Linked DNA regions of Homo sapiens: regions 2, 3, 4 and 5 are each linked to region 1. Evidence: promoter capture Hi-C in 16 types of primary human blood cells and fetal thymus (Javierre and others, 2016). All regions are on one chromosome and are shown on one strand. The core of a region is centred on a gene start or on the middle of the fragment in contact, and the rest is flanking DNA. Distances in the headings are between cores, read along the strand shown. Region 1 holds the start of GAS7 (growth arrest specific 7). Region 2 overlaps GAS7 (growth arrest specific 7). Region 3 overlaps GAS7 (growth arrest specific 7). Region 4 overlaps GAS7 (growth arrest specific 7). Region 5 overlaps GAS7 (growth arrest specific 7).

Evidence for each region. The method cuts DNA at HindIII sites, captures the fragments that hold promoters and counts their contacts. A CHiCAGO score of 5 or more calls a contact.
Region 2: a contact is called between a fragment that was not itself captured here and the fragment with the promoter of GAS7 in region 1, in 8 of 17 cell types (neutrophils, monocytes, M0 macrophages and 5 more). The highest score is 17.1, in neutrophils.
Region 3: a contact is called between a fragment that was not itself captured here and the fragment with the promoter of GAS7 in region 1, in 9 of 17 cell types (neutrophils, monocytes, M2 macrophages and 6 more). The highest score is 26.6, in neutrophils.
Region 4: a contact is called between a fragment that was not itself captured here and the fragment with the promoter of GAS7 in region 1, in 6 of 17 cell types (monocytes, neutrophils, M1 macrophages and 3 more). The highest score is 15.8, in monocytes.
Region 5: a contact is called between a fragment that was not itself captured here and the fragment with the promoter of GAS7 in region 1, in 11 of 17 cell types (monocytes, neutrophils, M2 macrophages and 8 more). The highest score is 27.8, in monocytes.

What each region holds. Positions count from the first base shown.
Region 1 is chr17:10,197,087-10,202,070 of GRCh38, reverse strand. GAS7 (growth arrest specific 7) reads left to right here and starts at 3,465. Exons shown (of 14, transcript NM_201433.2): 1 at 3,465-3,863. The coding sequence starts at 3,681. The HindIII fragment of the contact is 8,346 bases long and covers 2,476-4,984 here.
Region 2 is chr17:10,063,778-10,069,170 of GRCh38, reverse strand. The region is part of intron 1 of GAS7 (growth arrest specific 7); the gene reads left to right. Among named protein-coding and RNA genes, the nearest start is that of GAS7, 130 kb to the left of the region's middle. RefSeq lists an enhancer at 292-791. The HindIII fragment of the contact is 4,005 bases long and covers 1-3,798 here.
Region 3 is chr17:9,962,013-9,967,317 of GRCh38, reverse strand. All of the region lies in intron 4 of GAS7 (growth arrest specific 7), which reads left to right. Among named protein-coding and RNA genes, the nearest start is that of RCVRN, 59 kb to the right of the region's middle. The HindIII fragment of the contact is 7,970 bases long and covers 1-5,305 here.
Region 4 is chr17:10,042,125-10,046,784 of GRCh38, reverse strand. The region is part of intron 1 of GAS7 (growth arrest specific 7); the gene reads left to right. Among named protein-coding and RNA genes, the nearest start is that of RCVRN, 140 kb to the right of the region's middle. The HindIII fragment of the contact is 7,290 bases long and covers 1-4,660 here.
Region 5 is chr17:9,980,035-9,984,654 of GRCh38, reverse strand. GAS7 (growth arrest specific 7) reads left to right here. Exons shown (of 14, transcript NM_201433.2): 3 at 2,771-2,851. Among named protein-coding and RNA genes, the nearest start is that of RCVRN, 77 kb to the right of the region's middle. RefSeq lists an enhancer at 3,004-3,505. The HindIII fragment of the contact is 8,587 bases long and covers 1-4,620 here.

The sequences.
Region 1 (4,984 bases), core at 2,216-4,715:
GGAGAAGGCAGGAGGGAAAATTGATAAGGGAGGAATTTATCTTTCCTTCAAGATCCTGGGAGAAAACAGAAAGCCAAAGTGTGTTTCTACAAAATTTGTGGCATCCCAAAGATGTAAGAGTTCCTCCTTCTATTGTTGCTCTAGAAATCTTAGTTAAAAAAGAAGTGTTACGTAATAAATCACCAGGACCCTTGAACTGGATAGATAAAAACAATCGCTAACATAGGGGCATTTAATGTGCCAGGCACTGCTCTAAACAGTTTACATGCTTCCTCACTTAATCTTCTTAATAACTCTATGATATTAATACTACTGTTGTCTTCTTGTAGTGATGAGGAAAATGACGCTCAGAGACGTAAGTAAATCACCCAATGCCACACAGCTAGAAAGTGGCAGAAATGGGGTTTGAATAAAGGCAGTCCAGAGCCAACATATTTAACCACTAACTACATTTAACCATTTAAATTCCCATATTCCAGTTACTGGATTCGATCTCCAATTACAGACGGGGAAATAGACCCAAAGGTATGGGAAGACTTGAGGATTTGGAGGTTACCTGATTGATAAGAGATCAGCAACAGGAGTTCCACTAACTGCTAGTCCAGTCTTATTTCTATGAAGACTGACATTGGGTATCACCAGAGAGTCTTTTCTTTTCTTTTCTTTTCTTTTTTCTGAGATGGAGTCTTGCTCTGTCGCCAGGCTGGAGTACAGTGGCGTGATCTCGGCTCACTGCAACCTCCACCTTCCAGGTTCAAGCGATTCTCCTGCCTCAGCCTCCTGAGTAGCTGGGATTACAGGCACGCGGCACCACACCTAGCTAATTTTTGTATTTTTAGTAAAGATGGGGTTTCACCATGTTGGCCAGACTGGTCTCAATCTGCTGGCCTCGTGATCCGCCCGCCTTGGCCTCCCAAAGTGTGGGGATTACAGGCATAAGCTCTCACAGGCTGTGCCCAGCCTAGAGAACTTTCTCTTAAGATGCTATTTGTGGGTGAGTCACTAGGATACCTGCTTTCTGACTGGCAGGGGGGACGACAGAAAGCAACACCAGTGTACAATAAGCTAGAATTGAGTTCAAAGCTGATTCTGCTGTTGACCAGCTGTATGATGGTGAGCAAGTCACACTCTTTGAGCCCAGTTTCTTTACCTGAAAACTGGGACAACAGTCACCTCATCAGCTCGTAGGATTACAGGAATGAAATGAATTAAGTGGAGAAATTAACAGCTATTATCATTTTTGGTTGCTGCAGGAATGTTTGAGGTGGGTCAGGTAGAACTCAAGTGTATGGCATGCTGTGTAGGCTGCGATTTCTCAAGTCCAAACTGGATCACAGTTCCTCACGGGCATGCAGAGAATTAGGGTTGCAGGATGGCTGGAAATCAGTTGTCCTACCTTGATTCAGGCCACATCATCAGGAATGAAGCCTCAGAACAGCCTGCTGGAAGTCACATATTTTCCTGATACAAGGAATTGTATCTCTTTTAAAACTTCATTGGGCCAGCTATTTTTAATGACTGTTTTTGATATGAAGTTATGCAGCTCCGCTTTAAGGGACTCTTAGTGGTGACTGTGGTCAAGAGTTTGTTTCTTTATATTTCCGGCCAAGCGAATGTTCAAGACTTTGCAATTGATGGACTATTACAAATAATCTGCTTGTGTCACTTTGCCCATGGCCAGAGAACAGATGGAGGCTGCTCAGGTGAGATGGCTTAGCTGCAGACTAGGGCTCAGTAGTGACTCTTAAAACCTGGGCATGAGTATTTTTAAAAAGTTGCATAATGACTGTAATGTGCAGCCAGGATTGAGAACCATTGAACTAGGTGAAAGGCTCTGTGCCAGGGTCTGATTCAAAGCATAGACAGGTGCGCAAGATCTTCAGGCTCTTGGAGCCCGGCCTGACTGGTTTTGTAATGGATATCTAGGCAGTCATAGTAAGAGGTGAAGCTAGAGGAGGCGTTGTGGAGGGCCTGAAATGTACAGGCAGAGAAGTTTGTACCAAATTTAAAAGGCAATAGGGAGCCACAGAAGGTGACTGGGGGAGGGGGGAAGGAGTAGACAGAGGTATACAGGCGTATTAAAGGGTCCAGCTTTTTTTTTTTTTGAGACGGAGTTTCACCCTTGTTACCCAGGCTGGAATGCAGTGGTATGATCTCCGCCCACTGCAACTTCCACCTCCCGGGTTCAAGCCATTCTCCTGCCTCAGCCTCCTGAGTAGCTGGGATTACAGGCACCCGCCACCACGCCCGGCTAATTTTTGTATTTTTAGTGGAGATGGGGTTTCACCTTGTTGGCCAGGCTGGTCTTGAACTCCTGACCTCAAGTGAGCCATTCGCCTCAGCCTCCCAAAGTGCTGGGATTACAGGCGTGAGCCACCGCGCCTGGCCGAGTCCAGCTATTTACAGGCTAAAAAATGTACTTTATTTTATTTCTTTAAAATTTTTTATGGAGTAGACTAGCAAAGAAACCAAGCTTTCTTTTACTTCTGTACGGTCAGTTCAAGGTCAACATTCTGCAGCACTCAGGTTCACTGGTCCCTGGAGAGCAGGGACTGGCCCAAATGATGTTTGTAGTACCTGGCACATCGCATGGAACATGGCAGCCTCCTGGTAATGTTTGTTGACTGACTACATGAGTGTAGACTCTTTAGCCAACCCATCTCGATTTCGGGAGGGCTGGTACCCTGGGCCGGCCTTCCCTCTGCAAGTAAAAGCATTGGTGCTGTTCCTCTCACCGTTCGCCTTTCCTCCATTTATCCCCATCGACTGTTTCCAATTCTATCAACTCCGACCCCGTCTTCTCTCCATTCCGTCCCTCCAGCGTGCCACGCTGCCACCAGGCTGCTGGGCTCAGGCGCCAGGCTTCAAACCTGTCTTTCACCCATTGTTCAGTTTCCGGTGAGACAAGTTCAACCCCAGGTTCAACCACTACAATGACAACCACAAACGATCCCTCGCAGACACCTCGAAGAAGCCGCCCGCACGCCACGGGCCGCCAGGCCTACAAAGCAGGCACAGAACAGAGGGGCGTTTCCATTCCCGCGGTCCCCGGCGGTGGGGGCGCGAGTGGGAGCCCCTCTCCCCAGTGACAGGCCCCTCTGCGAGGGAGCGCGCAGCCCTCCGCGGGCGTGGCCGCCCTGGCCCCGCCCCGGCCCGCCCCCTCGCCAGTGAGCTAACCCCCGCCCGGCCACCCGGCCGCCAGCTCCTCTCCACGGCCGCCCGCCGCGGAGTCCTGCCGCGGGGGATGCTCCGGGTCCCACCTCCCGGGGGAGCTGCGCATTTCCGCGCGCCAGGGCGGCCCCGGCCCCGGTCCCGGCCCCGGCCCCGGCCAGCCCTCGCGGCGGCAGCCCGCGTTCCGCGTTCCCGGGAAGTTGTCTCCGGAGCCCGCGGCGCCTGGGTCTCCTCCCCCTGAGCCCCGCCCCCCAGCCCAGAGCTAGGATCCGCGAGCTGCCCGGCCCGGGGGCGTCGCCGCTCGCTCTGCGAAGCCAACGAGTCTCTGCTTCCCGGCGCGGAGCGCGCGTCCCCCGCCTGCCTGAGGACCCCCGCGCACCCCAGAGACGGCGCGCGCCCAGAGCGCGGGAGCCCGGAGCGCCGGGCGCCTGGGACCCCGCGGAGCCGCTGCCCAGCCCGTGGGGCTCGGCGGGAATGCAGGCTGCGCTGTGAACCCGGGCGCCAAGGCCATGTCCGGCGCTCGCTGCCGGACCCTGTACCCCTTCTCCGGGGAGCGGCACGGCCAGGGGCTGCGCTTCGCCGCGGGCGAGCTGATCACGCTGCTGCAGGTCCCGGACGGCGGCTGGTGGGAAGGCGAGAAGGAGGACGGGCTCCGTGGCTGGTTCCCGGCGAGCTACGTGCAGTTGCTGGAGGTAAGGGGCGAGGGCCGGGGCTGTAGGAGCCGGGGCTGCGGTCCTCGGTGCGCTCGCGTACCTGTTGCCCGTTCCGGGGATGCCGCAGCGTCCCGGTCGGAGGGGCGCCCCGGGGGGCAGCCCTTGCCGGCGCTACCTGTAGCTCCACGCTCCTGGGGGGCAGCGACGGCAGCGGGCGCCCCTCGGGGCGTGGGCAACGCGGACTCGCGGGGAGCTTCCACCTTGCGCCGGGCCTCCGGAGCACACCGTGGCTGCTCTGAGGAAGCGAGAACTTGTTGCCTGTGTGAGTTAAGGAGCAGGCGGGAGCGTTCCCGGCAGTGGCAGGGGCCGGTGAAGGGTCTGGCGGTCTTGGGAAGAGGCACGGAGGATCAGGGGTGCGAGAAAGTGGCACCGACTCGGTCCCGCAGCCCCGCGTCTCCACCCCGGAGTCTAGAGCCTGATGACCCGTGGACGGTCGTGCTGCCTTGGGTCAGGCTGCCTGGCCGCCTCGGGACCACCCACTTGCTGGTCAGCCGAGCCTGCTGGCCACCAGCCCGAGCCCCCTCAGCAGGCTTGATCCTGGGGTGCCGTAGCACCCCCCGCCACTGCCTGCTCCCCTGGTCCAGCTCCCCGAGGCTAAGGCTCAGAACCCGAAAGTGGCTTGTTCCTGGGGTTCTGGCCTGGCCCCAGGGCTGCACAGGACCTGCTGAGGCAAGGCGGCTGGCTGTTTATTGTCTATGTGACAGGCTGTCCTCTAATCACTGAGCTCGCAGTCACAGCCTGAGTGAGACCCGAAGTTTCTAAAGTCCTTTGTGTGTGGGGGGGTGACCTTCCAGGACATCCCCTTTACTAGAAGCCCGCCTGCCCCCAGGATTCTTGTAAAGACTAAATTAACAGTTACCTTCAATGGTGTCAGTATTCCTAAACATTCTGGTAAAACACTGCCGGAAGAAATCATGGAGGCTGAATTTATTTATTATTTAACTCTTGACCTACTTCACAGAGAAAGTAGCAAATTTTGACTGAGAATGCTCAGTGCAATTCATCGGGGGCGGGGGGAAGAAAGAAAGAAGTGAAATGGTTACAGGGTGAGTCCGCCTGAGGATGTATCCTGTGGCAACATTGTCAGCAAGAGCCTGGCC
Region 2 (5,393 bases), core at 547-3,046, 130 kb after region 1:
GCTGGTGTCTGGGAACTTGCATTTAGGAAGGGCTCCCACTATTCCCTGAATAGTAAGGGTGGCTGTTCTCTAAACTGTTCATGTGAGTAATACGGTTTGTGCTGAATACCTGGATTTCTTCAGGGAGTCTGCAATTCATGTTTGTGCTAGGCAGGGGATGCCTACATGACCAGCTCCTTATAAAAACTCTGGGCACTGAGTCTGTAATGAGCTTACCTGCTAGACAGTGTTTTACACATGCTACCAGGACTCACTGCTGGAGGAATTAGGCACATCCTATGTGACTGCTGGGAGAGGACTCCTGAACTTGCGCCTGGTTTTCTCAGGACCTTGTCCCAGGTTCTGTGTCCCTTCACTGATTTTGCTTTGTATTTTTTTGCTGTAATAAGACCCTTAAAAAAAAAATAGAGACAGGATCTCACTCTGTCACCCAGGCTGGATTGCAGTGGTACGATCCTAGCTCACTGCAGCCTCAAACTCCTGGGCTCAAGCAATCCTTCCATCTCAGCCTCCCGAGAAGCTGGAACTGTAGGCGTGTGCCACCATGCCTGGCTAATTTTGTGATTTTTTTTTTTTTTTAAGAGACAGGGTTTTGCTATGTTGTCTAGGCTGGTCTTGAACTCCTGGCCTCAAGTGATCCTCCTGCCTCAGCCTCCCAAAGTGCTGGGATTACAGGTGTGAGCTACTGTGTCTGGCCATAAGTCTTTACCAGAAGTAAAACATATGCTGAGTCCCATGAGTCCTTCTGGGAAACATCAGAGCTGAGGGTGGTTTTGGGAACTCCCAGCATAGCCTGCCTCTGTTTTCAGGTCAGGGAAGGAAACCCAGGGCTTCATCTGGGTCAGTGGGTCATCCTGGTTCAATGGGTCAGGGGCTTTCTAGCAAAGGTTCCGCAGAAGTTCTCCTAGGATCAAACTTAGGGAAGCGCCCTGAAGGAGTTGATGATGCTTCTGGGAAGAGCCGGCCTATCAAGTGCATATGGGGGTGCCTGTCCCTCTTTGGGGTGCTGTGTGATGTCACTGTGCTTCGTACAAAGCAGCTTAAAAGGTTTGGGAGGAAGTATTGGAGTGTGTTTATGTGTGGCTGAAGTCTCAGGTATGGTTTGTGTTAAGCCTCTGAAGGACAGAGCACAATCCCAAAATAGTTTTCATGGGAATGACCAAGGTAGAGACCATTGGTTTGGACCTATAATATCAGAGAGGCCACACCCCGATTCTTTACAAAACGTAACAGTGACCACACCTCAGTGGTTAGTGTCAAGGTTAAGGAATGTTGATATCAACTTTCCTCCGAAGGACCTGATTCAGTTATGTATGAATCTATTTCTCCCGGTCTGAGCCTCTGTTTAGACTTACAGGAGATGGTTGATGGTCTCCGATCAGGCCCACCCTGAACCAGGGCTGGGCAGGGTTAATGGAGAGTGTCTGGGATGTATTTTCAAAGAACTGTCATGGTGTAGGGGGACTAGGACAGGTGTTTGCAGACATTCCTAGCTTGAGGTTGGCCTGATTATTCTGTGTGAATCACCAGGCAGGTATTCAGCATTGGTCCTATTGGTCTTCCTTCTGATTACCCCCTAGCCAGAGGGGGTGGGGGTATAGGGCTGAGGTAAGCTCAGAAATGGGGCACTTGGCCAGGTGTGGTGGCGGGCACTTGTAATCCCAGCACTTTGGGAGGCTGAGGCAAGATCACAAGGTCAGCAGTTCGAGACCAGCCTGGCCAACATGGTGAAACCCCGTCTCTACTAAAACTACAAAAATTAGCCAGGTGTGGTGGCATGCGCCTATAGTCCCAGCTACTTGGGAGGCTGAGGTAGGAGAATCACTTGAACCCAGGAGGCGGAGGTTGCAGCGAGCCGAGATCGCGCCACTACACTCCAGCCTGGGCAACAGAGCGAGACTCCATCTCAAAAAAAAGAAGTGGGACACTTGTCTGCATGAAGAAGTGAAGGGAGTTGGAATAAAATGGAAGGCAGAGGAGCCTCTGCTGTGGTGGGCTGGAAACTCCACTCCCGCCACCCCATCCCTCCCCCATATTTCATCAGAGCCTTTTGTAAAGGATGGCAGAACCATGGAGCTGGGAGAAGGAGCTATCACTTGCCTGCAGTGTCAGCAAAGAGAGGCCAATTTTTAATGCTTTGTGTACATTATTAACTCACTTGATCCTTGTAACAGGTATTATTATTAATACTTACATCATCATTATTATTTTTTGTCTTCACGGGAATTGCTGACTTGAGATTGTCCAGCTAGATCAAGCAACTTGTCCTGGGAAAGCATGGATTTGAACCCAGGCAGTCTGGCTCCCAAGTCTACTCTCTTCACCACTACACTGTCAGGACTTGGTGACCTAGAAATGCTCCCCCTGACTCCAAAATTCAGTGACCCCAGGAGCCAATCCAAGCAGAGAAAGGCTGTCCTGATGTCCTGCAGAATGACAGTCACATCTCAGGCTTTCAAACTACTTATATGTTTTTTCCTAATTAATAGACCTTGAAATAAACAGTTAACTGTTTTTAAAAAAATTGACCTTGTAGGCCAGGCACAGTGGCTCACACCTGCAATCCCAGTGCTTTGGGAGGCTGAGGTGAGGGGATGGCCTGAGGCCAGCTGTTCAAGACCAGCCTGGGCAATATAGCAAGAGTCTGTCTCTGCAAAACAAAAAACAAAACAAAAAAAAGTAGTCTGGCCAGGCTGGGTGTGGTGGCTCACACCTGTAATCCCAGCTCTTTGAAAGGCCGAGGCGGGCGGATCACCTGAGGTCGGGAGTTTGAGACCAGCCTGACCAACATGGAGAAACCCCATCTCTCCTAAAAATACAAAATTAGCTAGGCGTGGTGACGCATGCCTGTAATTCCAGCTACTCAGGAGGCTGAGGCAGGAGAATCGCTTGAACCCGGGAGGCGGAGGTTGTGGTGAGCCGAGATCATGCCATTGCACTCCAGCTTGGGCGACAAATTAGCCTGGCCTTGGCTCCTTGTCACAGTCTCTCTTGTGCTTCTTCAGTCCCTACTTTCCTCTCCCTCCCATTTCCACTACAGATGGTGCCTTCCTACCCTACGCCATAGCAATCTGGTCACTGGGGAAATGGGGTTATGGAGAGGGGTATACTGTAATTCCCTTCATCTTATCTCAAGGTCAAGTTACATTTTGGCCCCAAGCATACAGCCCCCTAACTTGAGCTCCGGATAGACCTCCTTTGGGGCTCCCAATCCTGCTGAACCTCCCTGGCACTCTGTGCTCTTGCATATCTTCCACTCTGAGTCCAGCTCCAACATTCTGGCTATTTCTTCTTCCAGTGTTATGTGACTGGCACAGTTGGCCCCAGAGGTCCCAGCCAGGAGGACCTGGGGAAGCATCAGAGGTATTGACAGCAACATTTCTGATCCATGGTCCAACTTGGCCTGATGAGGGCAGCTGATAGTGGCTCTCCAAGATTGTCTACGTCCTAATCCCCAGAACCTGGGAATGTTATTTTATTTAGAAAAGAGTCTTTGCAGGTACAATGACGTTAAGGATCTTGAATTGAGAAGGTTTTCCTGGGTTATCTGAGTAAGCCCTAAATGTAATCACAAGCATCTTTATAAGAGAGAAGCTGAAGGAGATTTGACTGTAGATAGAAGACAAAGGGTATGATTGGGGAAGTAGGATTTGAGTGATGCAGCCACAAGCCAAGGAATGCCAGCGGCTACCAGGAGCTGAAAGAGTCAAGGACTGAGTTCTCCCCTTGACCCTCTGGGAGGAGTATGGCCCTATCAATACCTTGATTTCAGCTCAGTGATACTAATTTTTGGAAGCTTGGCATCCAGAACTGTGAGAGAATACATTTCTGTTGCTTTAAGACACCAAGTGTTATAGTGGCCAAAGGAAGGTTTTTAGAAATGCAGATATCTTTGGAAGAGAAGCTTACCCACAAGTGCAGGCTCAAGAAAGGAACCAAATCTCTAAATTCTCCCTGCTTTATGTTCTTTAGTTTTGATTGTTGCTATCTGTATACCTTGCCCTTTACCAAGGAACTATTAGCCAGGACTCTTTCTATTAAATGTTACAGAAATCCTATTCAGGCTTAGACCTGTAATCCCAGCTCTTTGGGAGGTCAAGGCAAAAGAATCACTTGAGCCCAGGAGTTTGAGACCAGCCTCAGCAACGTAGTGAGACCCCCATCTGTATAAATAAAAAATAAATTCACTAGGTGTGGTGGCACACACCTGTAGTCCCAGGTACTTGAGAGGCTGAGGATCACTTGAGCCTAGGAGTTTGAGGCTGCAGTGAGCTATGATTGTACCACTGTACTTCAGCCTGGGGACAGAGCGAGATCCAGTGAAAAGAAATCCCACTCAAATTGGATTCAGACAAAAAAGGAACAGTCCCAGGAAGTTCAGCTTCAGGCATGGTTTGATCAAGTGGCTTAAACAAACAGTGTCAGCAGTCTGATGTTTCTCTATCTCTGATTCCCTGTCTTCCTCATCAGCCCTCTTCCTTCTGCATTGGCTCCATTCTCAGTGAGACTTCTGCGAGTTGTCAGCGTGACCATCAGCAGCTTCAGGCTTGCATCTTGTCATAGTAATACATCTTTCCCCAGTAATTCCAAAACCAAATTCCAGGTATCCAGCCCCAGATGGGTAATATGCCCCTTCGTGAACTAGTACCGTGGTTGGGGAGAGGGCACGTGCTAATTGGCCAGGCAGGAGCCACTTGCTCCCGGAAACCTCGAGGGCTGAGAATGAGGTGAGGTGGTTCCACAGTAGAAAAATCAGGGTGCTTCTTTCAGAAGCCGGGGTACGTATGGCCTGCTGGGCAGGCCCACACAGCATACAGATGCTACGAGAGCCTGCTGTGCTTTGTAGGTCACAGACCCCCACGGTGTGCTTGGAAATGCCAGATCATGCTGTGAGGCTTTTCCTCTGCCCCAGCCTCTGGCACGAGACTCCCACGTGTGAAAAGCAGACTCACAGTCCCTGCGTGTCGTGGAGCCCGGGAAATGAAAACGTCAATCTGGGAGGCCCCAGAAGGTGTAGGGGATTGAGTGAGAGAGCCAAGAAGCTGCAGCAGCCGCCGCTGCTGGGACTTCGTGTTTACAAATCACATTATCGGAGCATCTTTGAACTTCTGTTGGCACGTGTGTGACTAATGTTCGAGCTGGTGAGGGCCATGTTGGGAAATGGAAAAGGGAAGTGGGGACGAGCGCTCGTGCTAAAATGGTGCTCTCTTTGGCAATGGCCTTTGGAGGAGGTGACTCACTAGGGGCATTGAGGCAACAAAGAAACTGCTGTGGCTGGATGAAAAAAAGATGCTTCCTCTGCCCCCCTCACCACCCGTGCAAGGGGAAGCCCATGACCTGAGTGTCTTGAAGGAAGCATTTGACCAGGGAGGGTGACCCAGGGTGGAGCCATA
Region 3 (5,305 bases), core at 1,125-3,624, 230 kb after region 1:
TGCTGAAGTTGAGAACCTTTGGTCTAAGATCATGGGTCATTTTATTTTCTTTACACTTGTTGTTATTTTTCAAATTTCCTAAAATGAACACATTTTACTTTTATAGAAGGCAGATACAATTTTTTACTTAAAAAAAAAAAAAAAAGCTACAAAGTAGGTACCAGTATGGGGAATTCAGGAGAGGCGAGCTCTGGAGATGCAGGCCCGGGTAGATAGTGGCTGCCTAAAGACAGGCGGATTGAGTCAGACTCTTTTTGGATGGTAACCTTGGGAGCTGAGGTGTCATCAGGGTAACAAAAATAAATCATGTAGTATATGGAGAGGGCGAACGTGCGTTGTTCACCAGTCCCAGGATCAGGAGGTAGAATGTTATTCTTTTAGGCTTTGAAAGGGTAACATTTGTATATAAAAGCTACTACTTTTTTAAGTTAAAAATAATTAGGAAACAGGGTGTCCCTGTGTTGCCCTTGCTGGAATGCACTGGCTGTTCATGGAGGTGATCGTAGATCACTGTGACCTCAGCTTGGAACTGCTGGGCTCAAACAATCCTCCCGCCTCAGCCTCTGGAGTAGCTGGGACTGCAGGCGCCGGCCACCACGCCCAGCTAGCTACTACTTTTTGTCCTGGTTTGTGAGCCTGCAGGCTGGTTATCCAAAAAGGTGCCAAGAGTTAAACATACAAATAGGTTAAGAAGGTTTGGTGTTTACAGAGAGCTCTACCAACAAAGGGTCCCCAGGTATAGACCCCACTCCAGCATGCAGACGAGTAGATTCACCATCCCTGCTGTCAGTTATCACTCATGATAACTACACTTAAACATCAATAAATGAATAAATGAGCAAAGGAACACTTGAGATGCGGCATGTGGGGTGGATAAAGTGGCATGTTCAGGGTTACAGTGACGAAACCTAGACTGGAAAGCCCCAGATCTCAAAACCCGGTTGTGATCTCTTTCCGCCCCCTGCTTAGCTGCCCCTCCTTGAGCAAGCTGATCAGGAAGATTAGAATTTTGGGGGGAGGGGGCGGTCGTGGTGGCTCAAGCCTGTAATCCCAGCACTTTGGGAGGCCGAGGCAGGCAGATCAGGAGGTCAGGAGATCGAGACCATCCTGGCTAACACTGTGAGACCCTGTCTCTACTAAAAATACAAAAAATTAGCCGGGCGTGGTGGCGGGCACCTGTAGTCCCAGCTACTCGGGAGGCTGAGGCAGGAGAATGGCATGAACCAGGGAGGCGGAGCTTGCAGTGAGCCGAGATTGCACCACTGCACTCCAGCCTGGGCGACAGAGCGAGACTCCATCTCCAAAAAAAAAAAAAAAAAAGAATTTTGGGGGGTGGGTGTCGGGGGATGGGGAAAGGGACTTTCCACGGACACCAGTAACGTGTCCCCACCATACTATGTCATGGGGAGGACTGATAGTGGGTGCCCCACAGTTCCTGAGGGTGCCTGCCCCGCTCCTTCACTCAGCCCTTGGAGACCTGGATGGGTGGGCACAGGAGGTGGTGATCTGGTGCCACCCAGTGGAGGGTTTCAATTCTGCAGCCCTGGGGCAGTCGGCCCAGGTACTGGGTAAATGCAGCCCACCTGATTCGGGGGCAGAGGCGAGGGATCAAAGGCGAATCATCTTTTTTTATTTTTTATTTTACTTTAAGTTCTGGGATACATGTGGAGAACGTGCAGGTTTGTTACATAGGTACACATGTGCCATGGTGGTTTGTTGCACCTATCAACCTGTCATCTAGATTTTAAGCCCTGCGTGCAGTAGGTATTTGTCCTAATGCTCTCCCTCCTCTTATCCCCCACGCCCCGATAGGTCCTGGTGTGTGATGTTCCCCCACCGGTGTCCATATGGTCCCATTGTTCATCTCCCACTTATGAGTGAGAACATGCGGTGTTTAGTTTTCTGTTCCTGTGTTTGCTGAGAATGATGGCCTCCAGCTTCATCCATGTCCCTACAAAGGACATGAACTCATTCTTTTTTATGGCTGCATACTATTCCATTATGTATATATGCCACATTTTCTTTAGTCTATCATTGATGGGCATTTGGGTTGGTTCCAAGTCTTTGCTGTTGTAAATAGTGTAGCAATAAACACGTGTGCATGTGTCTTTATAGTAGAATGACTTATATTCCTTTGGGTATACTCAGTAATAGGATTGCTGGGTCAAATGGTATTTCCGGTTCTAGATCAAAGGCTAATAGTCTTGCTGCCTTTGCAGAATCGCGTCCTAGTGGGTCCCTTCCCTTCCTGCCCACCAGTGCCTGGGCCTTTTTGTGATCCACCTTTCAATTGTTCTGGCTTCTCACGAACTTCCCAGGAAGACCCTCTAGACACAGGAGAGAGGAAAGAGAATGGGACGAAGGGCTTGGAAACTTGAGGGACCCATTGGAGCATGGAGTTCAAAGTGGAGAAAGAGGTGAGATGTTTAATCTCCACCACCTCCTACCTACCTCAATAATTCAATAACACATGTTCTTATTGAGCAATTTCGGTCTTTGTCAGGCACTGAGACACAGGTGATATCTATAGCCCTGCGTTGATGGAGTTTTATGGCTGGTGTGGGAGAAACAGTAGATAAATAATGGTGCAATTTCAGCAGTGACAAAGGCTGGAGGAAGTGGATGCTGTGAGAACCTAGCCTGGTGCTGGAAATGTCAGGAATTAAGGTACCTTAAGAAAAGATACCTATTCTAAGACTGGAATGATGAGCAAGGGTTTCACTTGGCAAAGAGGTGGGGAAAGAATAGCTTTCCAGGGGAGGGAATAGCATCGTGGATGCCTGGAGGCAGCAAGGGGGAACCGTGTTTACGCATAGAGACCCAGTGTGGCTGTGGCTTACTAAATCAGCAGGAATAGGGAGGGTGGGAAATGAGGCTGGGGTAGTCTGCGCAGGCCTGCCACGAGGAGCTCAGGGGTTATCCTAACTGCACTGGGAAGCCATTGAGGGGTTTTGTACAGGATCCCACCTGCTGAAGGGATGGGACCCAGATTATTTGCAGGGGGGGAGGAAATGGGCTGAGAAGACATTTGGAGTCGGGGGCCTGCTGAATCACTTGTGAATGACCCACTCCAGTTTACCAAGCACTTCCTGTGTGGTATCACCCCCTGCCAGGCCTCAGGGTGATGCAGAGATGCCCAGGTGGGGTGTCCTGACCCCTGGGCAGGCCTTTACAAAATAAATGGAAGGGAAGAGTTCTCTGGAATCACAGGCAAAGGAAATTTAAAACAAATACTCTTATTATAGGCATTTGCAAACCTTTGCAAAAGTAGAGGGAATATATAATAAGGTACCACAAATCTGTTAAGCCCAACGATTACCTGCCTTTGTCCAATCTTGTTTTATTTGTGCTCCCATCCCCTCCCCCAATCCCCTTGCCCTCCACCCCCTAGATTATTTTAAACCACATTTCTGACTTACTGTTTTAAATGCAAATATTTCAGAATGTATCTTCCAGGAAGAAGACATAATGATAATACCATTATCATATTTAAGAAAACATTAATTCAATAATGCCGCCTAATATATACACTCCAGATTCCTCAATTGTCTCAAAAAATGCCTTTTTTTAAGAAAGAAAAAAGAGAGAGATGGGGTCTTGTTCTGTACCTCAGGCTACAGTACAGTGACACCATTATAGCTCGTGAATTCTAGAACTCCTGGGCTCAAGCGATCCTTCCACCTCAACCTCTCAAAGCCTAGGGTTACAGGTGTGCGCCACCATACCTGGCCCCCAAATCCCTTTTATGGCTGCTTTTCTCCCCAGTCCAGGATCCCTTCAGGTTCACACACAGATACACTGGTTGCTGTGTCTCTGTTGTTTCTCTCTCTCTCTCTCTTCCCCCACCAAAAAACTGCTTTATTGAGCTGTAATTCACATACCCATACAATTCACCCATTTAAAGTGTATACAATTCAGTGTTTTTTACTATATTTACAAAGTTTTACAACCATCATCAAATCTATTTTAGAACATTTTCATCAACCCAAGCAGAATCACCTGAAGACTTAGGCAGCCCCTAATCTTTCTGTCTCTATGGGTTTGCCTCTTCTGGACATTTCATATAAATGGTATCATACTATCTGTGGTCTTTTGTGTCTGGCCTCTTTCACCTGGAATTCCAAGGTTCATTCACATCGCGGCATGGATGAACACTCCATTCCTTTTTATGACAGAAGAATATTCTGTCGTATGGATAGAACGTTTCATCCAAGTTGTTGCCTGTCTCGTTGCCTCTACACTCAATCCCTTACACCTTTTTTTCTTTTTTTTTTTTTTCATCACCTTGACGATTTATTTTTGAGGAGTCCAGGTCAGGTGTCTTATAGAATAACCTGCGTTCTTGGTCTGACTGTTCTCTTATGCGTAGGTTCAGGTTCTGGAGTTTGGGCAAGAATAGCTGGACAGGGCATGTGGGGTTCTTTTTACTGCATTTGGGGGCACAACCACCCAGGTTGGCACCCTACTCATGAGGCTCAGTTTGCACTCTCGGTTAAGGTGCTGACTGCCAGATTTCTCCTTTGCAGGGGTACATTTTCCCTTTCTAATTTGTCAGTCATCTGTGAGGTGCCAGTGTAAGACCCTGTGAGTATCCTGTGCCCTGGCAGTCTTTCCATCCCCTGCTTTCAGCATCCTTGAGGATCATGGCCTGAGTCCCCTTTGAGGCTGGGGTTTGCAAATGGTGGTCATCCAATTTCTTGTACATTTTTTATTGGCATTCTTCTGAAATAAATGTTCTCTCCCTTCCCCTTTGGAGTTAGTTAGTTAGTTGCAGTCATTCATTCATATTTGTGCTCAAATTGTCGCAGATTTGGCCTGTGGTAGCCCTTTAAGTTGTTTATGTTCTTTTGTTATCTCTCCATTATTCTCTGAATACTTTCTTACCTCTTGGTACAATAGGATATTCCAAATACCTGCCTTTGAAATTAGTACCAAGGAGCTTCCGGTAATATTTGGAAACCAATTTCTAGCCAGTAGATGTTGTCACTGTGATGAGATGTCATTCCTTCTGGGCCCTTTCAATGGAGAATTATGATAGTGTGTGTGTCACGTGTGTGTGTGTGTGTGTGTGTGTGTGTATAAAATGCACGTGATATGTATATGAAGTTGGAGCAGTAGGCACAGGTTATCAGCAGCACAGGCAGAGCCTGAGATTGCCTGTGATCTACCTTGGCCCTCAGTGGTTGAAGTAAAACACTGCTAATAGAACAGAGACCAGGGAAGGTGCTGACACCTAACACGTGGAACACCCAACCTCAATGCCATTACTTGTATTCCTATCCTAGCCAAGTTATAAGGAGGAGGT
Region 4 (4,660 bases), core at 621-3,120, 150 kb after region 1:
CTTTCTTTCTTTCTCTTCTTTCTTTCTTTTCTTTTCTTTTTTTTTTTTTGAGACAGAGTCTTGCTCTGTCACCCAGGCTGGAGTGCAGTGGCGTGATCTCGGCTCACTGCAACCTCCGACTCCCAGGTTCAAGCAATTCTCCTGCCTCAGACTCCTGAGTAGCTGGGACTACAGGTGCCCGCCATCAAGCCTGGCTAATTTTTGTATTTTTAGTAGAGACGAGGTTTCACTATATTGGCCAGGCTGGTCTGGAACTCCTGACCTCATGATCTGCCCGCCGAGGCGGGCAGTGTGCTGGGATGACAGGTGTGAGCCACCGCGCCCAGCGGTTTGCAAGATTTTCTGCATTTCCTTCATTGGCCTCATGGTTCTCGAGTTTTTTTTTTTTTCCTCCGATTCTGTTTGTCATTTTTGGATTTTGTTTTTAAGATTGGATGAGTTATTTCCTGTTCTTTTCCTCTTATTGCTGGTTTGATAGGCAGTGTCCTGGGGCAGCTGTCAGATGCTTCTTACAGGGAAGTCCCCTGCATCTCCTTTTGCCATGCCCTTAATCTCCCAGAGATTCAGTCACACGCCGGGTACCGTGTTCCTGTCGTTGTGGGGACGTAGTCAGTAGAGAATTCAAGTTCAGTTTTCTGGATTAAAAAAAAGAATCTCCAGAACCACTTTGTGGATGCTGCATGGTGACTTGATGTGTAGCCAGAGACAGTGTTTCTCAAAGTGTGCTGAGTTTCCAACTAAGGATCCGTGAGATAATTTTAGATCATGTGGAGATGACAGTTTTAAAGTTATATTTATTTTAGTGTGTAGTAGAAAGAAACCAAATCAAATCTGTGATTTCATAGATATTATTGCTTAGGGCCAGACTACATTTCAGTGGGATATAAGTCAGTTCGAAAAAAATATTGAGTAAATAATAGTGCGGCTGGTACACAGTGATGGATGGAACAAGGTGTCACAGTGGGATATGAATGACTGCAGGAAGGGGAAACCAAGCTGTGGGATCTCTTAGAATCAGGGCTGTTTGGAGGCCTTTTCAACTGGGTGCCGTTTCTGATATGTCCACTTGATACTTGGGAATTTTTTTTGAGATAGCGTCTCACTCTGTCGCCTAGGCTGGAGTGCAATGGCGCGATCTCAGCTCACTGCAATCTCTGTCTCCTGGGTTCAAGCAATTCTCCTGTCTCAGCCTGCTGAGTAGCTGGGATTACAGGCGACCACCACCACACTCAGCTAATTTTTATATTTTTAGTAGAGACGGGGTTTCACCATGTTGGCCAGGCTGGCCTTGAACTCCTGACTTCAGGTGATCCACCTGCCTCGGCCTCCCAAAATGCTGGGATTACAGGCGTGAGCCACCACACCCGGCCAATACTAGGAATCTTTTATGGGGTGGGACACATAGAAATTTTATAAGGGTCCTAGGACTCTACCATGATATGTACAAGAAACTGGCTGCAGTCACCTCACGGGAGCCCTCTGCCCAGCACAGCCCTTGGTCTGGAGCCAGCCACAGTCTATGGCCTGTCCTCTTTCTTGTTCTCTTCTTTAATGGCATCTTATCTAAAGATCTTGCTTCCCTTTGCATCCTATGCTCATAGGTCCTTGTGTGCCTGTGATCCAAGTCTACACCCATCACTCTTCCATATTTCTCTTTCCAAGATAAATGAGACACACCCTTTCTGTATTCAGCGAGCATTTTCTTTGGCATCTCACTTGGACACTTTTTTTTTTTTTTTTTTTTGAGATGGAGTCTCGCTCTGTCGCCCGGGCTGGAGTGCAGTGGCACGATCTCTGCTCACTGCCAAGATGAAGTGATTCTCCTGCCTCAGCCTCCCTAGTAGCTGGGATTACAGGTGCCCACCACCATGCCCAGCTAATTTTTTGTATTTTCAGTAGAGATGGAGTTTCACCATGTTAGCCAGGATGGTCTCCATCTCCTGACCTCATGATCCGCCCGCCTCGGCCTCCCAAAGTGCTGGGATTACAGGCGTGAGCCACCGCGCCTGGCCGGACACTCTTAACTACAGTTGACCCTCAGACAATGGATTTGAACTGCACAGATCTACTTATATGTGGATTCTTTTCAATTAATATATTGGAAAATATTTTTGGAGATTTGTGATAATTTGAAAAAAATTGAAGACAGACTACCTAGTCTAGAAATACCAAAAAAATTTAGAAAATGTTAGACATGCCGTGAATACATAAAATATATTCGATACTAGTTTATCATTTACTACCACAAAATACATACAAATCTACAGAAAGTTAAAATTTTTAAAATTTTACCCACACAAACACTCAGACTGTGTATGGCACCATTCATATTTAAGCAAAATGTAAACAAAGGCAAAGATGTAGTATTAATCATAACTGCATAAAACTAGCCATAGTATATACTGTAGTAACTTCATGGCCACCCCTAGTTGTTATTGCAGTGAGCTCAGGTGTTGAGAGCATCGGCTTGTCATGTGATGCTGATCAGCCCTGGATGAACAGTTCATCACTCCAGTAAATTGGGTATCGCAGTAAAATGTAAGCCCTCACTGTTCTATGTATTTTTCATCATGTTTAGTGCAATGCCATAAGCCTCGAATAACACCATGGGACCCATAGAGTGTGCCACTAGTGATGCTGAAAGCATTCCCCAGAAGCAGAGAAAAGTCCTGACATTACAAGAAAAAGTTCAATTGCTTGTCAGGTACCGTAGACTGACGTCTGCAGCTGCTGCTGCCACCATTTCAAAGGTTTCATCTTTTAAACAGATGATGTAAACTTATGGCATCAGTAAATACAGTACAGTACTGTAGGTGTATTTTCTCTTTCTTATGATTTTATTTATTTATTTAGAGACAGGGTCTCACTCTGTTGCCCAGGCTGGAGTGCAGTGGAGCAATCTTGGCTCACTACAGCCTCAACTTCCAGGGTTCAAGAATACTCTTGCCTCAGTCTGCCTAGTAGCTGGGTCTACAGGCATGCACCATGCCAGGTTAATTTATTTTTATTTTTTATCTTCACTTATTTTTGTAGAGATGGGCTCTCACTCACCAGACTGCCCAGGCTGGTCTCGAACTCCTGGGCTCAAGCCATCCTCCCACTTCAGCCTCCCAAGGTGTTGGGATTATAGGTGTGAGCTACTGTGCCCGGCCCCTTATGATTTTCTTAACATTTTATTTTTCTCTAGCTTACTTTAGGAATAAAGTCTGTAATATGGATAACATACAGAATACATGTTTATCAACTGTTTAGGTTATCGCTAAGGCTTCTAGTCAGCAGTAGGTTGTTAGTAGTTAACTTTTGAGGGAGTCAAAAGTTAGGTACAGATTTTCAACCACATGGGGAGATGGGGGTTAGCACCTCTAAACCCTCGTGTTGTTCAAGGGTCAGCTGTACTTATTTCTTCTTGTATCCCCCCTCTTCATTTGGTTTCTCTGCCTGATTCTCAGAACTCACATCGTTCATTCCCCATGTAGCCCCTGAGTGTTGAGCACTAGTCTGGTTAGAGGTGAAAAAGATGAAGACCTGGTTCTTGCCTTTGAAAGTCTTGGAGAGGGGCCCTGGGGGTGTTGCATGCACTAATGAAAGGCACAGGAGAGGGAGGGATTGGGCCTGAGGCATGCTGGGGGAGAATAATTCTTCTCCCACTGCTTAAGCAAGAGCATGCCCCAAGGTTCAGCTCAAGGTCCTTTCTTTCTCTGTGAACTCCTTGTCAGCCTGTAGGATCTCACCACCATCTCTGAGCAGATGCCTCCAGCTCCAGCTCCATGTGCCAAGGGCCAGACTCACCCCTACTCCCCACCGAACACTTTGAACTTGGATCCATGGTCAACAGACTCTACTGCATCCCCCTAAACTGGCTGTCACCATAGCCACATCTCTTCGAGTTACTGGTTCGAACTTCTGTCATTTCCTTCCGAATCAACTTCGCTGTCTCTCATTTCCTTATGTCCCGTCCTTTATCAAACCTTATTCTGCTTCGTACATCATGTTCCTCGGGCTCCAGTCAAGCCCTTGTTTTTTATCCCTGCTGTGAGGCAAGTTCTTTATCTTTTGGGAAGCCTCCCTGTACCATCCCAGCCAAGAGTGACCTCGCCCTCCTCTGGATTCTGAAAGCTCTTATTGTCTGCCAGCTTATCACATAGCATTTGGCACTGTTGAAGACTCCTTTGATACTTATTCCTTTTTTTTGCCCATGTTTGCGACTTAGCTTCCGAATTTTAGGAGTCAGGTCCTACATACAATACCTGCCTGCATCCCACACAGGATTCAGGAAAGGGTAGTTAGTAACTATTAGTTGGTTGATTGATCATGCAGACAGGGGGCCACGTATGGAGGAAGGGGGCGTCCCTGAGACCCTGTACCCTAGAGACTGCTTGGGCTGATGAATAATTTTTCCGTTCATGACTGTGAAGCAGTTACAAAAGTGAGTCATCACCCTACCCAGATGTGTTTTCTTATTAATTATCTTTTTTTTTTTTTTTTTTTTTTTGACGGAGTCTCGCTCTGTCACCCAGGCCGGAGTGCGGTGGCACTATCTCAGCTCACTGCAACCTCTGCCTCCCAGGTTCAAGTGATTCTACTGCCTCAGCTTCCCAAGTAGCTGGGACTACAGGCACGTGCCACCACGCCCAGCTAATTTTCGTATTTTTAATAGAGA
Region 5 (4,620 bases), core at 22-2,521, 220 kb after region 1:
ATTCCAGAGGTCACTCAGCGTATGAATGGCTTATGACGTGGGCCCTAAGCAGGGCAGTGGTCTTTGAAGTAAGTTCTCCAAGGCTTCCTGCTCTTGCCAGCCAGTGGGTCCCTTGGAGAAGCTCCTAAGCCTGCTGGCAGCCTCTCTCCTTGTCACTCCTCATAAAAGACCCTACTACTGTCTGGTTTATGTTCACACCGTCTCTGCTTTCCAGATCACCCTCAATTCTGTTTTCTCTCCCTTAAGACATGAAGGGACCATATTACCCCTGTTATGCCTGCCCCTGGAGTCCAGGTTCACCCTTCCTGAAACCCAAACCATGGGCCTTGAGACCACCAATCACACCTAGAGAGCGGGAGTATTGGGGCCTACGAGACCAAGTAGCCGAACCTCTTTATTTTGGATGAAGCATCAGAGGACCAGAAGGGTGGTGCGATTTGCCTAGGGCTGCACGGTAGTTTAGGAGCAAAGTTGAGTCAAGAACCCAGTTTTGTTTTTATTGTTTGAAACAATTGAATTTTCAGTAATGGAATTTTTAACTAAATAATGTTATATCCTCATATCAGACTAACTTTAAAAATGACTTAGCGCTAGAGGCATGTATGTGGGCCTTTGGTATTGGTACAGTATCTCCCTTGGGTGGACACCTTATTGAACTCATTTTACATAGGAGGAAAGGGAGTCACAGAGAATAAGTAGCTTGGCCAAGGATAGTGGTGGTGAGAGGCAGAGCTGGATTCCAACCCAGGCAGTCTGGGTCTAGAATCACCACACTAAACAGAGCCTAACTACTTTGCTATACCGCCCCCTTCAGTGATTTTGGAAAGTTTTTAAAATTTATTTTTATTTTATTTGTTTATTTATTTTTGAGATGGAGTCTCACTCTGTCACCCAGGCTGGAGTGCAGTGGCATGGTCTCAGCTCACTGCAACCTCCACCTCCCAGGACCAAGCGATTCTCGTGCTTCAGCCTCCTGAGTAGCTGGATTACAGGCACACACCATCGCGCCCAGCTAATTTTTGTTATTTTTAGTGGAGATCGGGTTTCACCATGTTGGTCAGGGTGGTCTCGAACCCCTGACCTCAAGTGATCCACCCGCCTCGGCCTCCCAAATTGCTGGGATTACAGACATGAGCCACCGCGCCCGGCCTATTTTCATTTTTTGAGACAGGGTCTTGCTCTGTCACCCAGGCTGGAGTGTAGTGGCGCCATCATGGCTCACTGCAGCCTCGACTTCCCAGGCTCCAGTAATCCTCCCAGCTCAGCCTCCTGAGTAGCTGGGACCACAGGCACGTGCTACCACACCTGGCTAATTTTTGTATTTTTGGTGGAGATGGGGTTTCACCATCTTGCCCAGGCTGGTCTCAAACTCCTGAGTTTAAGCAATTCACCCACCTCAGCCTCCCAAAAGTATTGAGATAAGACGCATGAACCACTGTGCCTGGACAGATTTTGGAAAGGTATTCACAAAAATTTATACATAAAAAGAATCTATAGTTTGATTTTGTCTCATTTTAAAGAGAAACATATGCTTAGAAAACAAATCAACATATGGATACCAAAATGTTGATGGTGATGACCTCTGAATGGTGGGATGATGGGTGATATTTATTTTTGTGTGTTTTCCTGCATTATCAAATTGTATGTAGTGAGAAAGTATTATTTTTATCACTAGATAACTTCATAAGAAGTCTCTGCTCATGGCAGTGAAATGGGTAAAGTAGTGTTTGGGGGACAATACTATAGCTTGCAGTATTAGTTTTCTCTCTTTCTTTGCTTTCTTTGCTTTCTTTCTTTCTTTCTTTCTTTCTTTCTTTCTTTCTTTCTTTCCTTTCTTTCCTTTCTTTCCTTTCTTTCCTTTCTTTCTTTCTTTTTTTTTGAGGCAGAGTCTCATTCTGTCTCCCAGGCTGGAGTGCAGTGGCACAATCTCGGCTCACTGCAACCTCTGCCTCCCAGGTTCAAGGGTTCTCCTGCCTCAGCCTCCTGAGTAGCTGGGATCACAGGCACGTGCCACCACGCCTGGCTAATTTTTGTGTTTTTAGTAGAGACAGGGTTTCACCATGTTGGCCAGGCCGGTCTCGAACTCCTGACCTCAAGTGATCTGCCCACCTAGGCCTCCCAAAGTGCTGGGATTACAGTTGTGAGCCACTGTGCCCGGCCAGTTTTATTTCTGATTAGAGCCTGTAGCAGGGCATTGGAAGAGAGAGAGGTGACCAGGCAAATTCAGCAGTTACAGCTCAAATGAGACTTAGAACTGCGAAATCAGGAAGAAACTTGGAAGTCACCACCAGGTGGCAGAGGGCCCCTGTCTCTTTACAGGCTCCTGCACCTCTGTGCTTTGGAGTTTCAGGTAACAGTGGACATTTGGGGAGAAATACCTGGTTGGCAACTTCAGGGTTCCAGGAGAAGAGTCCAGAGCCCCGAGACAAAGTAGGGGTGAATGAAGAGGCAGGTTGGGGCAGAGGATATTTTAGAGGATCTTGACATCTCAACAGGAAGTCCATCTCCTTCTGGCCCCAGCCTCATCAAGAAGGGCCCCCAGCAAAAACAAGCTCTGTGGTCATGGGATGGTGGAAGGGGGCAGGGGCCAGGAAGGGAGATGGATGGATATGGGAGCAGAAAGCAGGGTCCTGTCTGGCCAGGGTTGGGGAGGAGGGCGATTGGCTGTCTCTCTTTTTCTCCAGCTCTGAGCATCTCCTTCTGCTCTGTGAAACTCAGGTTCTGCCCTGTGACATTCTCAAAGTGATTTTCTTTGCTCTTCTTTCACCAGAGACCACCTGGGAACGTCCCAGCAGTTCTCCTGGGATTCCAGCCAGCCCTGGCTCTCACAGGAGCTCTCTGCCTCCAACAGGTAATGTCCGCTGTCTGCTTTGGGGCAACTGGGAGGGCCCTGATGCCACATTCAGTGGAGAGGCTGAGATGATGGGTCCTGGGTCTTAAACCTGGCTGATGTAGCAAACCCAGGGAGGGGTTGGGCCTGGGAGAGGGTCCCTTAGGCCTGCTGCCAAGCAGGTTGGTGTCTCCCTGGCAGTGCCAGCAGCAGCTCTGGTGGCCTCCTGCACACTCCTCCTCAGGCGCTTAGTGGGAGGAGATGGCTGGGGGAGGTGAGGTGTCAGAGCTCTTTCCTGTCTGTCAGGGGCAGGAAGACCTGAAGTGTGGACAGAACCACCCTATGTGGCTCTTGTGGACATCACGGAGTAGAAGCTAAAAGGAGGTAGATGTTTACAAGGCAGCTTTCAAATAAAACACCTGAAACAGTGTGAGGGAGACCTTTTGAGGGTGTGAGTTCCCCATCTGCAAAGGTAATCAAGCAGAGGCAGTTGAGATGGACGTTCTTTTTTGTTTGTTTGTTTGTTTCTCTTTTGAGACAGGGTCTCATTCTGTCACCCAGGCTGGAGTGCAGTGGTGCAGTCTCGGCTCACTGCAACCTCCCCTTCTGGGTTCAATGGATTCTTGTTCCCCAGCCTCCCGAGTAGCTGCGATTGCAGGTGCGCACCACCACACCCGGCTAATTTGTGTATTTTTAGTAGAGACGGGATTTCGCCATGTTGGCCAGGCTGGTCTTGAGCTCCTGGTCTCAAGTGATCCACCTGTTTTGGCCTCTCAAAGTGCTGGGATTAAAGGTGTGAGCCACCGCGCCTGGCTGAAATGGACATTCCTATAATAGGTGGGAGGTTTGTTCAGGGGCCTCTTGGGAGACATCTAGGTCTGAGATTCTGGAAGGCAGGTTATGGGACCCATCAGCAGGGAGAACAACATCTCCTTTCATGTGGCTTTTTAAAAATGTCACCTCCTCCAAGAAGCCTTCCCTGACCACTCAATTTTGAGCCCTCATGCAGTCACTTTAGATCTCAGCCGCATGCTATTTTAATGTCCCCATCATCCTGTTCCTAGTTGACCTTCACTCTCCCATGCTAGACTGTAAGCTCCCTGAGGGTGGGGACTTTGTCTGTTTCTTTTGTGATATCCTCAGTCCGCAGAGCCTGGCTTCCGTGTTGAACTAATTCACCAATGTCTCCACCATCCTATGGTGTGTGGAGCACACTTGTTGGTTTTCGACTTCAGGAGTCAATCTGGCAGCAAAGCATGAAAGTCAAAGTTGTGGTTGGGGCTGGGAATTTAATCTTCCAATGCCTTGAGCGTGACATCCTCAGCTTCTGTGGAAGGGAGGTGAGAGCCTGTGTAAAGTTTTCAGAAGAAAAAGTAATCCCTGGTCTAAATAGTTTACCTGAAGCAGCACAGGGAACCACAGGAAGGACCAAAGGTAATCACAGGACTCTGGAATACTGGATCGGAAGAGGGAGGTGGGACGCAAAGCGAGTGGCCAGATCCTCACCTTTCAGAGCAGGGAGTCTTTGGATATTGTCTAGCATTGAGACCTGAAGACATGAAAGTGCACATTCAAAGCATATTGCTTAGGCATATGACAGTTGCCAGCAGAAGAGCTCAAAACTGGAAAAGATGGGAAAATATTACCTCTAGAAAATCAGCTGAGGCGTGGGAGAGGTGATAGGAAGGTGGGTGTTTTCTATCAAAAATTATTTTAGGTTTTCAAAAGCACTTTATTTATATTTATATTATTAAATTTTTAAAAAAATAAGAAAGGAACCCCCTGTGTGG